3 separate regions of the Homo sapiens genome follow, and regions 2 and 3 are each linked to region 1. The links are contacts of gene promoters, found by promoter capture Hi-C in blood cells and fetal thymus (Javierre and others, 2016). All regions are on one chromosome and are shown on one strand. Each heading gives the region's core, a stretch centred on a gene start or on the middle of the fragment in contact. The rest is flanking DNA. Distances are from core to core; before and after follow the strand shown. Region 1 holds the start of PCBD1 (pterin-4 alpha-carbinolamine dehydratase 1). Region 2 has its middle 27 kb from the start of PRF1. Region 3 overlaps NODAL (nodal growth differentiation factor).

Evidence for each region. Contacts are between HindIII fragments. The CHiCAGO score rates a contact against its expected background, and 5 or more counts as called.
Region 2: a contact is called between a fragment that was not itself captured here and the fragment with the promoter of PCBD1 in region 1, in 1 of 17 cell types (megakaryocytes). The highest score is 5.3, in megakaryocytes.
Region 3: a contact is called between a fragment that was not itself captured here and the fragment with the promoter of PCBD1 in region 1, in 1 of 17 cell types (M2 macrophages). The highest score is 6.2, in M2 macrophages.

What each region holds. Positions count from the first base shown.
Region 1 is chr10:70,887,065-70,890,157 of GRCh38, forward strand. It overlaps PCBD1 (pterin-4 alpha-carbinolamine dehydratase 1), which reads right to left and starts at 1,501. Exons shown (of 4, transcript NM_000281.4): 1 at 1,467-1,501. The coding sequence starts at 1,469. RefSeq lists silencers at 758-1,037, 1,368-1,617. The HindIII fragment of the contact is 14,850 bases long and covers 1-3,093 here.
Region 2 is chr10:70,573,868-70,576,778 of GRCh38, forward strand. No RefSeq gene overlaps it. Among named protein-coding and RNA genes, the nearest start is that of PRF1, 27 kb to the right of the region's middle. RefSeq lists an enhancer at 2,476-2,605. The HindIII fragment of the contact is 2,944 bases long and covers 79-2,911 here.
Region 3 is chr10:70,429,164-70,432,231 of GRCh38, forward strand. NODAL (nodal growth differentiation factor) reads right to left here. Exons shown (of 3, transcript NM_018055.5): 3 at 2,773-3,068. Among named protein-coding and RNA genes, the nearest start is that of NODAL, 11 kb to the right of the region's middle. The HindIII fragment of the contact is 2,737 bases long and covers 1-2,710 here.

The DNA of each region.
Region 1 (3,093 bases), core at 251-2,750:
GATTGGCAGGAGTTTTGAGACCCGCTTTCACCATTTACCAGCCAGGTGGCTGTACCTCTCTTGGCAGAACCTCCACCTCCACAGATCATCATGAGGTGCCAATGGGACACTTTAGGAAACTCCACTGCTATAAAGCAAATGTCATCTGCATTACAAAAAAAAAACTTCCTAAGGCAAGCAGGCTTGTGATGGGCCTGGTAGCATTTGGGGTAGCTGAAGCATCGCAGTGCTTTCCTAAGTCCGTCTTTTTTCCCTGCTGTTTTCCCTCCTGAAAACGTGAGCTCTCTCTGGACTGATGTAGCTTGGCCCCTCTCTTCCCCTCGGCTCTGGATGACTATAGGGATTGAATGGCAGCAGCGATTTGCATCATCTGCCCAGTAGGTAGGTCTCTACTCCAGAGCTGGCCTTCTCCCCGTGGCTGACCGCCTGGTCCGTGTATCTAGACAACCAGAAGTCAGCCAAAGCATCAGAGCCCACTGTTTACTTCCTTGGCTCTTAAAGGGGTGGGTGAGTCCAGGTGAGCTCTTAGGAGGCTTCCCTTTCTCGGTAGAGCCTTCTGGAACCCCCCAGGTCGCACAGCCTGCGGCTGAACTGACAAACCTTCCAGGTGCCGGCTCTGGAGACAGAGAGGGGGACGCTGCCCCGTTTGCCTCCTCTGGCGAGGTGTGGGGAGTGGTTACCGATTTCCCAAGCCTGCATCTCTGGGACCTCAGCGCCCCTCACAAACAGCCCCACTCATCCTCCCTCCCCCAAGTCCCTCTCCTATCAAAAGGCCCTCCCAGTCTTGCCTGCTCCGAAGGCCTGTGGACCAGAAATGGTCTGATGAAGCTCGCGAGCTTACAGCAGAGCAAGGGCCCCGCCCCCGCCCCCGCCCCGGGGGTGGGTGGGGGAAGCTCACGGGAGGAGGGCTGCTCCAGCGCCACCAAGCCCCCGTGGCCTGGCACGGGCCTCAAGCCGGCGCGGGGAGTGGCTCTGGGGCCAGCATACCGGCGCAGAGCGTGAGTCCCAGGCAGACCCCGTACCCAGAGTGCCAGCGGGAAGGGGCAGCGGACAGGCACGCACACGAGCGCGCAAACTCAGCCTCCCTCTCGCTCCCACCCCAGTATAAAGCAGAATCGGGCCACCAAGGGGACGAGATCCGTGGACTCCTCCACGACTGTCTTCCCCGGCCCAGGAAGGTCGTAGGCCCCGCCCCCGGAAGGGTCCCGGAACAAGCACTGGCCGGGGTCAGGGCAGGCCTGGCCTCCCAACTGGGTGGGATTCGAACCCGCCACCGCCCCTCTCAGGGCTTCAGCTTCCCCTCCCCGCCGCCAGCGACAGAGAGCCGGGCAGAGACCCCACTTTCGGACCCCGGCGGCTCCGCAGGGGACTCGAAAAGACTTTCCCCCGCCCCTTCCCGCTCCCACCTCGCCCGCGGCTGCCCCGGCCCCGCTGCCCCGATCGCGGCCGCGCACCCCTGGACTCACCATGGCGCGGGCGGCAGCAGGTGGCCAGCGGAGAGGGCAGGCGGCGGCCGGGCGCGCAGGCTGCCGTCCCGGGGCGGGGCCGCGCTCGGGCCGCCCTCCGGTAATGATTAACGTCCCCAGCCAGGGACGCGCTCGGCCTGCTTGCTTCCAGCACTTTCCTCGCTGCTCAGAGCCATCCTCCGTGCTTGTTTCAGGGAGCTAGGGTGAAGCATGAGGGCTCCAAATGCCCGCTTCTGGGTTGGAATCCCACCCCGCCGCTTACAGCTGGGTGGCCCTGGGCGCCAGAATACCTATTTTTTTCTTTATAAAAATCTCTTATTTGGATATAATTGACATGCAATAAATTGCACATATTCAACGTGTACAATTTGATAAATTTTAATGTTTCCCTCGTGAGACCATCACCGAGATCAACATTATGAACATATCATCATCCCTGCAAGTTTTCCCTTGCCCTTTGGTAACCCCTTCCTCCCGAAACCACCTGGCCAGGCAAGCACTGATGTACTTTAGGTCACTATAAATTAGTTTGCATTTTCTAGAATTTTATGTAAATGGACCATAGAGTATATACTAGGCAGGATAACTGTTTTGGGGTTCAGCCATGTTGTTGCCTATATCAATGGTTTCTTCCTTTTATGGCTAAGTAAAATTTATTTTATAGTATTGCATTGTACAGATAGACTACAATTTGTTTAGCGATTCACTATTGGACATTTGCGTTGTTTACCTTTTGGCTATTACAAATAAAGCTGCTGCGAATATGGTGCACAAATCTTCGAAAGTACGTATGTTTTAATTTTCCTTGAGTAAACACTTAGGAATGGAATGCCTGGGTCATGTGGTAGGTGGACTTTTATAACTTATTAGGAAACTGCCATACTGTTTTGCAAAATGGTTGTATCATTTTATATTCCTAGCAGCAGTGTATGAAGGTTGCAGTTCTCTGTCCTCACCAACACTTGATATAGTCAGCCTTTTAAATTTTAATTGGTGTGTAGCAGTATCTCATTGTGGTTTTGAGTTTCCTTGATTAGTAATTGTATTGAATGTCTTTTCATGTACTTATTTGCTAAGGATAAGTTTTTTTTATTGAATAGCATGTTTGAATTTCCTGCCCATTAAAAAAGAAATTGGGTTGTCTTCTTATCGAGTTTTGAGGGTGTTTTATTCTGGATATAAGGACATGATCAGGCAGTGATTTGCAAATATTTTCTTTGCATTATCTTATGGTGCCTTTCAAAGAGCAAACGTTCTTAATTTTGATGAAATCCAATATATCAAATGTTTCTTTTATGGATTTCTATTTTGATGTTGTACACATAGAAATCTTGGCCTAACCCAAGATCAAAAGTTTTCTCCTATGTTTTATAGCTTTTGGTTTTACATTTAGTCTGTGATCCACTTTGAGTAAATATTTTTATATGCTTCAAGTTATAGATCCAGATGCACTTTTGCACATGGCGACTCAGTTATTCCTTTCTCCACTGAGTTGTCTTTGCACCTTTGTAAAATATCAATTGACTGTATACATGTGGGTTTATTTCTGAGCCCTTTCTTCTGTTCCATTGATCTGTTTGTCTGTCATGACAGAACACTACCTTGTCTTGATTATTATAGCTTTATA
Region 2 (2,911 bases), core at 301-2,800, 310 kb before region 1:
ACATTGAAAATGGGCTAATTCCATCAGGTCTACCTGCCCTGCTTGCTTTGGGTTGCTTTTTTAATTCTCCCCCTCCCAAGCTTTTTCTATGAAGCTGAAGGCTGTGGTAGCTGAAGGCCTCACCGCTGAACACTGGAACTTAACCTTCACTGGCTACTTTATAGATAACATTCATAGGTCACCATGGTAATATTCACTTCAGTGTTTTTCAGGAACTTGGCCAGCGCCTGTCTAGTTCAAACTAGCTGAGACCCCGATCCTTCACCCTAGACTGCCCAAGTGCCCAAGGGGTGGCCTTTTGAAGTCAGAGGGCCGACGACAACACCCTCAGATCATGCAAATGCCACCATTTTTGTTGCATGTGCCCTGTGAAGTGCCGTGAAGCCTGACTACCCTTGCTCAGGAGGAACCTGTCACTTCATTTTTTTCCCACTGCCAATCACCTGTCCCCATGATTTAGATCATCCCACTTCCCTTACCTGTAAATATCCTTAAGCCTTATCCTCAAGGGTCGGGTGGGGGTGGTTTTGAGAGCTGTTCTCCCACCTCCTCATGTATTGCCCTTGCAAATCTTTCTCTTTTGCAAAACCCATGTCATCATGATTTATTCACTGTGCAGAGGCAGAATGAACCTGGACCTAGCCAATCTTACTTAACAATTTTTGTATTTTCAGTAGAGGTGGGTTTTCACCATGTTGGCCAGGCTGGTCTTGAACTCCTGACCTCAAATAATCCATCCAGCTCAGCCTCCCAAAGTGCTGGGATTACAGGCGTATGCCACCGCGCCCAGCCCATTTGATGAGTTTTTACAAATGCATACACCTGTGTAATTCAAACCTCTAACAGGATATATAGACTTGCATTGGGGTTTTTAATGTTAAAACTTACAACAATACTTCAAATAATGTCTTCAAACACAAATCTTTGTACAGGTAATAATTAGACTCCTTTGGGTGACATATTTCAGAAAACAGCCCCAGCTAGCTTAAGCAAAGAGGGAGAGTGTAAAAAATATGACTCCATGGTACGGTGGCTCACACCTGTAATCCCAGCAATTTGAGAGGCTGAGGTGGGTGGATCATGAGGTCAGGAGTTCAAGATCAACCTGGCCAAGATGGTGAAACCCTGTCTCCACTAAAAATATAAAAATTAGTGCCAGGCACCTGTAATCCCAGCTACTCGGGAGGCTGAGGCAGCAGAGGTTGCAGTGAGCCAAGATCGCGCCACTGCACTCCAGCCTGGGTGAAAGAGAGAGACTCTATCTCAAAAAAAAAAAAAAAAAAAATATATATATATATATATATATATATGTGTATATATATATATATATGTATATATATATATGTATATATATGTGTATATATATATGTATATATATGTGTATATATATATGTATATATATATGTGTGTGTATATATATATATATGTGTGTGTATATATATATATATGTGTGTGTGTATATATATATATATATATATATATATGACCAGCAGAGGACCATGGCAGGAATGCAGCAGGGACTGGGACTAGGAGGCTGCCCGGGGAGTCCTGGAAGCTCCCTCTGTGTCCTCCATAGGGGTGCACCACTCACTTCTCCCCTCAGGACAACCTGCTGCTGCTGCAGAGAGAACAGTTGGACCACCTTCCAGCAATTGCACCTCTGGATCCAACACAGTGTTCGTGCCAAGGCCTTGCTCCCCCATCCAGCACACTCCACCCACAGGCTGCTGACTGAGCAGGGCAGGGATATAGAGCTGGCTGTGTCTGCCCCTCCATCCTGCAGCGAGGCTGGGAGCCTCCCCATTGGTCTGACCAAGAGTTGCCCAGAGCTATCCTGCAGTGTCAGGCTTGTTGTGTCTACTGAGGAAAGATGAGGTTCATACACATTTGGAAAGGAGAGCTTTATTTCTCATAAAGGGTTGCAACCTGCTGGGTGGTCATTCTGACAGGCTGGGAAACGTAGCCTCTGGCCAGAAGCCAGAAACAGACACTTCGAAGGTGGGGAGAATAAGACAGGGATTTACGCTGAATAGGGTGTCCAGATATACATATTCAACAGGTTATAGGAGCAGCAATGAATATTCACAAAGGGGAGGCAAGGGCATTCGTAGTAGGGTAACATGTATGTAACACGTGTCCCAGATTCACTTTGGGGTGGAGACTTAACATTTAAACATATTACAGTTAGGCCCTCTACATTAAAACGGGAAGCAGAGGACACGAAGGCCCTCTGGGTGCAGCTTCTGGAGACTGGCCAGAACCACTCTGTGGCCAGGGTTTTTTTTTTTTTTTATCAGGAGGGACTGCTTAGCGGTTGCTGTGTCAAGCTGCAAAAGGGGAGGGGCTGTGTTAGGCAGTTGGTTGGTACCAGCGTGAAGCAGTGGTTTCTGTTTAACCCTTAGAGAAGAAAGCCTAATGGTTAGGGGGGGAGGGGGCATAATGAGGCCTGTCCAACCTCCTGTTCCATCATGTCCGGGAACTCCATTTTTAAGGTTTCTCGGGGGTCCCCTAGGCCAAGAGGTGGTCCATTTGGTCAGTTGAGGGGCTTAGGATTTTATTTCTCTGGCTCTTTCCCTCTCTCTTTTTGTGGGTATTAGAGCCACACTGTGGTTTGAAGGCCCTTCCTGTTGCCTTCTGTTTCCTCCTTTGTTCTTCACAGGTGTTTCGCCAAATAGCTTTCTTGCACAGACTTGAACAACCCACCCTCTGCCTTGTCTCAGCCTCTCTGGGCACCTGCTTTGTCTCTGAAGGCCGGCACTGCTGTGGCACTGCTTGGTGAAAATGACCACCCTGGTTTCCAGCTTCACATGGTACAGTTCCAGCAGACTAAGAGCTGGTTCTTGCCCTGCCCTATGCTGCCATCTCAAGAGAGGGGGCAGGTCCTGTCCACGATGGTGGTCATGGGTCAGGG
Region 3 (3,068 bases), core at 92-2,591, 460 kb before region 1:
TTTAGGGCACAGGCTTTGGAGTCAGGCAGCTTCAGTTCCAGCTGTGCTGCTTAGTAGCCAAATTACCCAGCAGAATTCTTATTCTACAAGCCTCAGTTTTCTCTAAAATAAGGTTAAGAAACAACTTTTCTAGGTGGTTGTCAGGCCCAGTTGATGTCATAAAGAGCCCAGTGCCTAGTATACTCAGCTCAGGAAACAGTATTTAAGGGACTCAAGCACAGCCCGGTTGACATGGACACCCAGAGATTATTCAGCCCCCTCTCCTCTTCCCTCCAAGTGTGTAAGTTTAGGAATGGAACAGGTTTGAGCACTGCAGCTACCACCTACTCATGGAACCTATAGAAGGACTAAAGGATCTCTTTAAGGGAAGATGGGACCAAAACCTTAAAAGCGCTTTCCTACATCCTTTACTCTGCCCTAAAGGCAATTAGGATAGGTAAGGATCTTACTGCTAATGAAGACTTTTTTTTTTTTGAGACTGAATCTTGCTCTGTTGCCCAGGCTGGAGTGCAGTGGTGCGACCTCGGCTCACTGTAACCCCCGCTTCCTGGGTTCAAGTGATTCTCCTGCCTCAGCCTCCTGAGTAGCTGGGATTACAGGCACGTGCTACCATGCCTGGCTAATTTTTATATTTTTAGTAGAGACGGGGTTTCACCACGTTGGTCAGGCTGGTCTCAAACTCCACACCTCGTGATCCGCCCGCCTCAGCCTCCCAAAGTGCTGGGATTACAGGCATGAGCCACCGCGCCGGACCGAAAAGGAAGACTTAAAGACGGAGATAAACCCCAGGTTAGGGGTGCTATCCCAGGGTCACAGCCACTCCCCACATCTCTATGGATCCCGTGTTTCTGTTTCTTACAATGTTTCTAATTTCTCCAGGCTTACCTACTGCCAGGCCCACCCACTTCCTCAGCCAAGGAGTGTAATGTGTCCAATTTTTACCACTCACAACTGACTTGGCACTTCTTGAGAGCAAGTTAAAATAACTCTTGAGTGCTCTTAAAACCCTAGGTTCAGGCCAGGTGCAGTGGCTCACAGCTGTAATCTCAACACATTGTGAGGCCAACACAGGACAAGAGCTTGAGCCGAGAAGTTGGAGACCAGCCTTGGCAACATGGCGAGACCCTGTCTTGACAAAAAACAATCTAAAAAATTAGTTGGGTATGATGGTGCATGCTTGCAGTCCCAGCTACTTGGGAGGCTGAAGTAGGAGGATTGCTTGAGTCCAGGATGGCAAGACTGCAGTGAGCCATGATTGTGCCACTGCACTCCAGTCTGGTTGACAGCAAGATCCTGTATCAAAACAACAGAAAACATCCCAGGTTCAGACAGGACACAATTCTCCAAGGTAGTATTTAAAGTGACTTATAGAGCCTTCAGCAAGCACATGGCCTAGAGCATGGAGCTATTCCCTAGGCTCGGGTAGGTAGGCTTTGCCCCAGTGACTCTGTCCAGGCAACAGAATGACTCTGCTGCTGACGTAGCAAACACTGAGCTTTCAGCAGGGGTCAGCAAAACACAGAGTTTCACTACTTTGTGCACTACTTTTATTTGACATGAGGCAATGCCCTGTCGTCAAGGGTTTGTTCTTGGAGTCAATACAGCTGACTGTAAACACTCCCACAAGCTGTAGCTACAAATAGCTTGACCTTTCGCTCTCTGGCACCAGCCATGTAAGAAAGTCCTGGGGTGGGATGTTCACTTCTAAGAACTAGTTCAGTAGTGTAATTGGGTTCAAATGTTTGGTTCTAAAGGCTAAGGCTTGGATCCCAAGATAGGTGAGCACAAACCTCTAGTTGCTGTTAAGCAGTAAGTGCCCGTAGGGCTCAAGAGACCAGAGCTCAGCTCTTGGCCCTGCCACTCCTAGCTGTGTGGTCAGGCCCTGAGGCCTCCCTGGGGTCTCACTTAGGAATGGGGATCAGACAAGCTGACCTCACAAGGTTGTCCCTGCTCTGCTGTTCTGTATATGGGCAGATGCAGAATCCTGTTGATTCTGAATTGTTGGATCTGGGCAGTCTATTTCTAGTCCAGGCAGTGAACAGCTGGATCAGCTTTGTTGTGGAATCAAGGCACTGAGGTTTCTCAAGCCCAGGCCTGGCTCCAGCAAATCCAGCCCCTTTCTGGGCCATGACTATGGTGTTGACTCAACCAAAGCCTCAGTTGAGTTCGTCTGAGCTCAACAGGGTTCACAAATGATTGGAATCATTTTCTTTAGCATAAGTGGGTAGGCTTCTTGGGAAAGCAGAATGGGGTAGATATACTGTGGGCTCACATTCCCAATAAAGTGGCCCCTTTGCTCCATGAAACTACAAAAAAAGTGCCCCTGCTTTGGCAATGCTCAATGAGATCAAGCTGTTAAGAGCAGAATTGCTTCTTTTGTTTGTTTTATTTAAACAGAGACAGGTTCTCACTATGTTGCCCAGGCTGGTCTTGAACTACTGGACTCAAGTGATCTTCCCATCTCAGCCTCCCAAAGTGCTGGGATTACAGGCATGAGCCACTGCACCCAGCCAGAATTGCTGCCTTTGAGGTCTTTTTACCTGGAAGATAACTGTGGTCAGGGGTTTTTGGGGATAGAGCTGCCTCACTCAGGCTCCTTTTGCTGTGCTTCCCATGTGGAACCTGAAATTAAGTCTGTCTTAGAACCCTGAGTAACAAAAGAGCCGATAAAGGTTAGATTAAGGGCATGTGGCAGGGACTGGGTTTAGCAAGCTTTATAAGCTTTAGAGGGAGGTAGGGATAAGGTAGCTCTTCCTATTCAGTCTACAGCTTAAAGCTCATGGCTCTTCTGAGCCTGACAACAGACATTTAATATGAATGCATTAGGATTCACCAGCGTTCCTTTTACAAGTGGAGACTGGACAGTGAATTGCTCACCTGAGGTCGCACAGCTTCCAGTGGCTGAGCTGTGACCATAGAGCAAGTATCTTGCCACCCAGGGCAAGGCCTTCACCACTGCTGGATAGGAAGCTCAGAGGCCTCATTAATAGCACACATTGAGAGACTGAGGTGGATTGTCACCAACTTTAACAAACTCAGGCTGTGTCTGCCGAAGCAGACTGACGCAG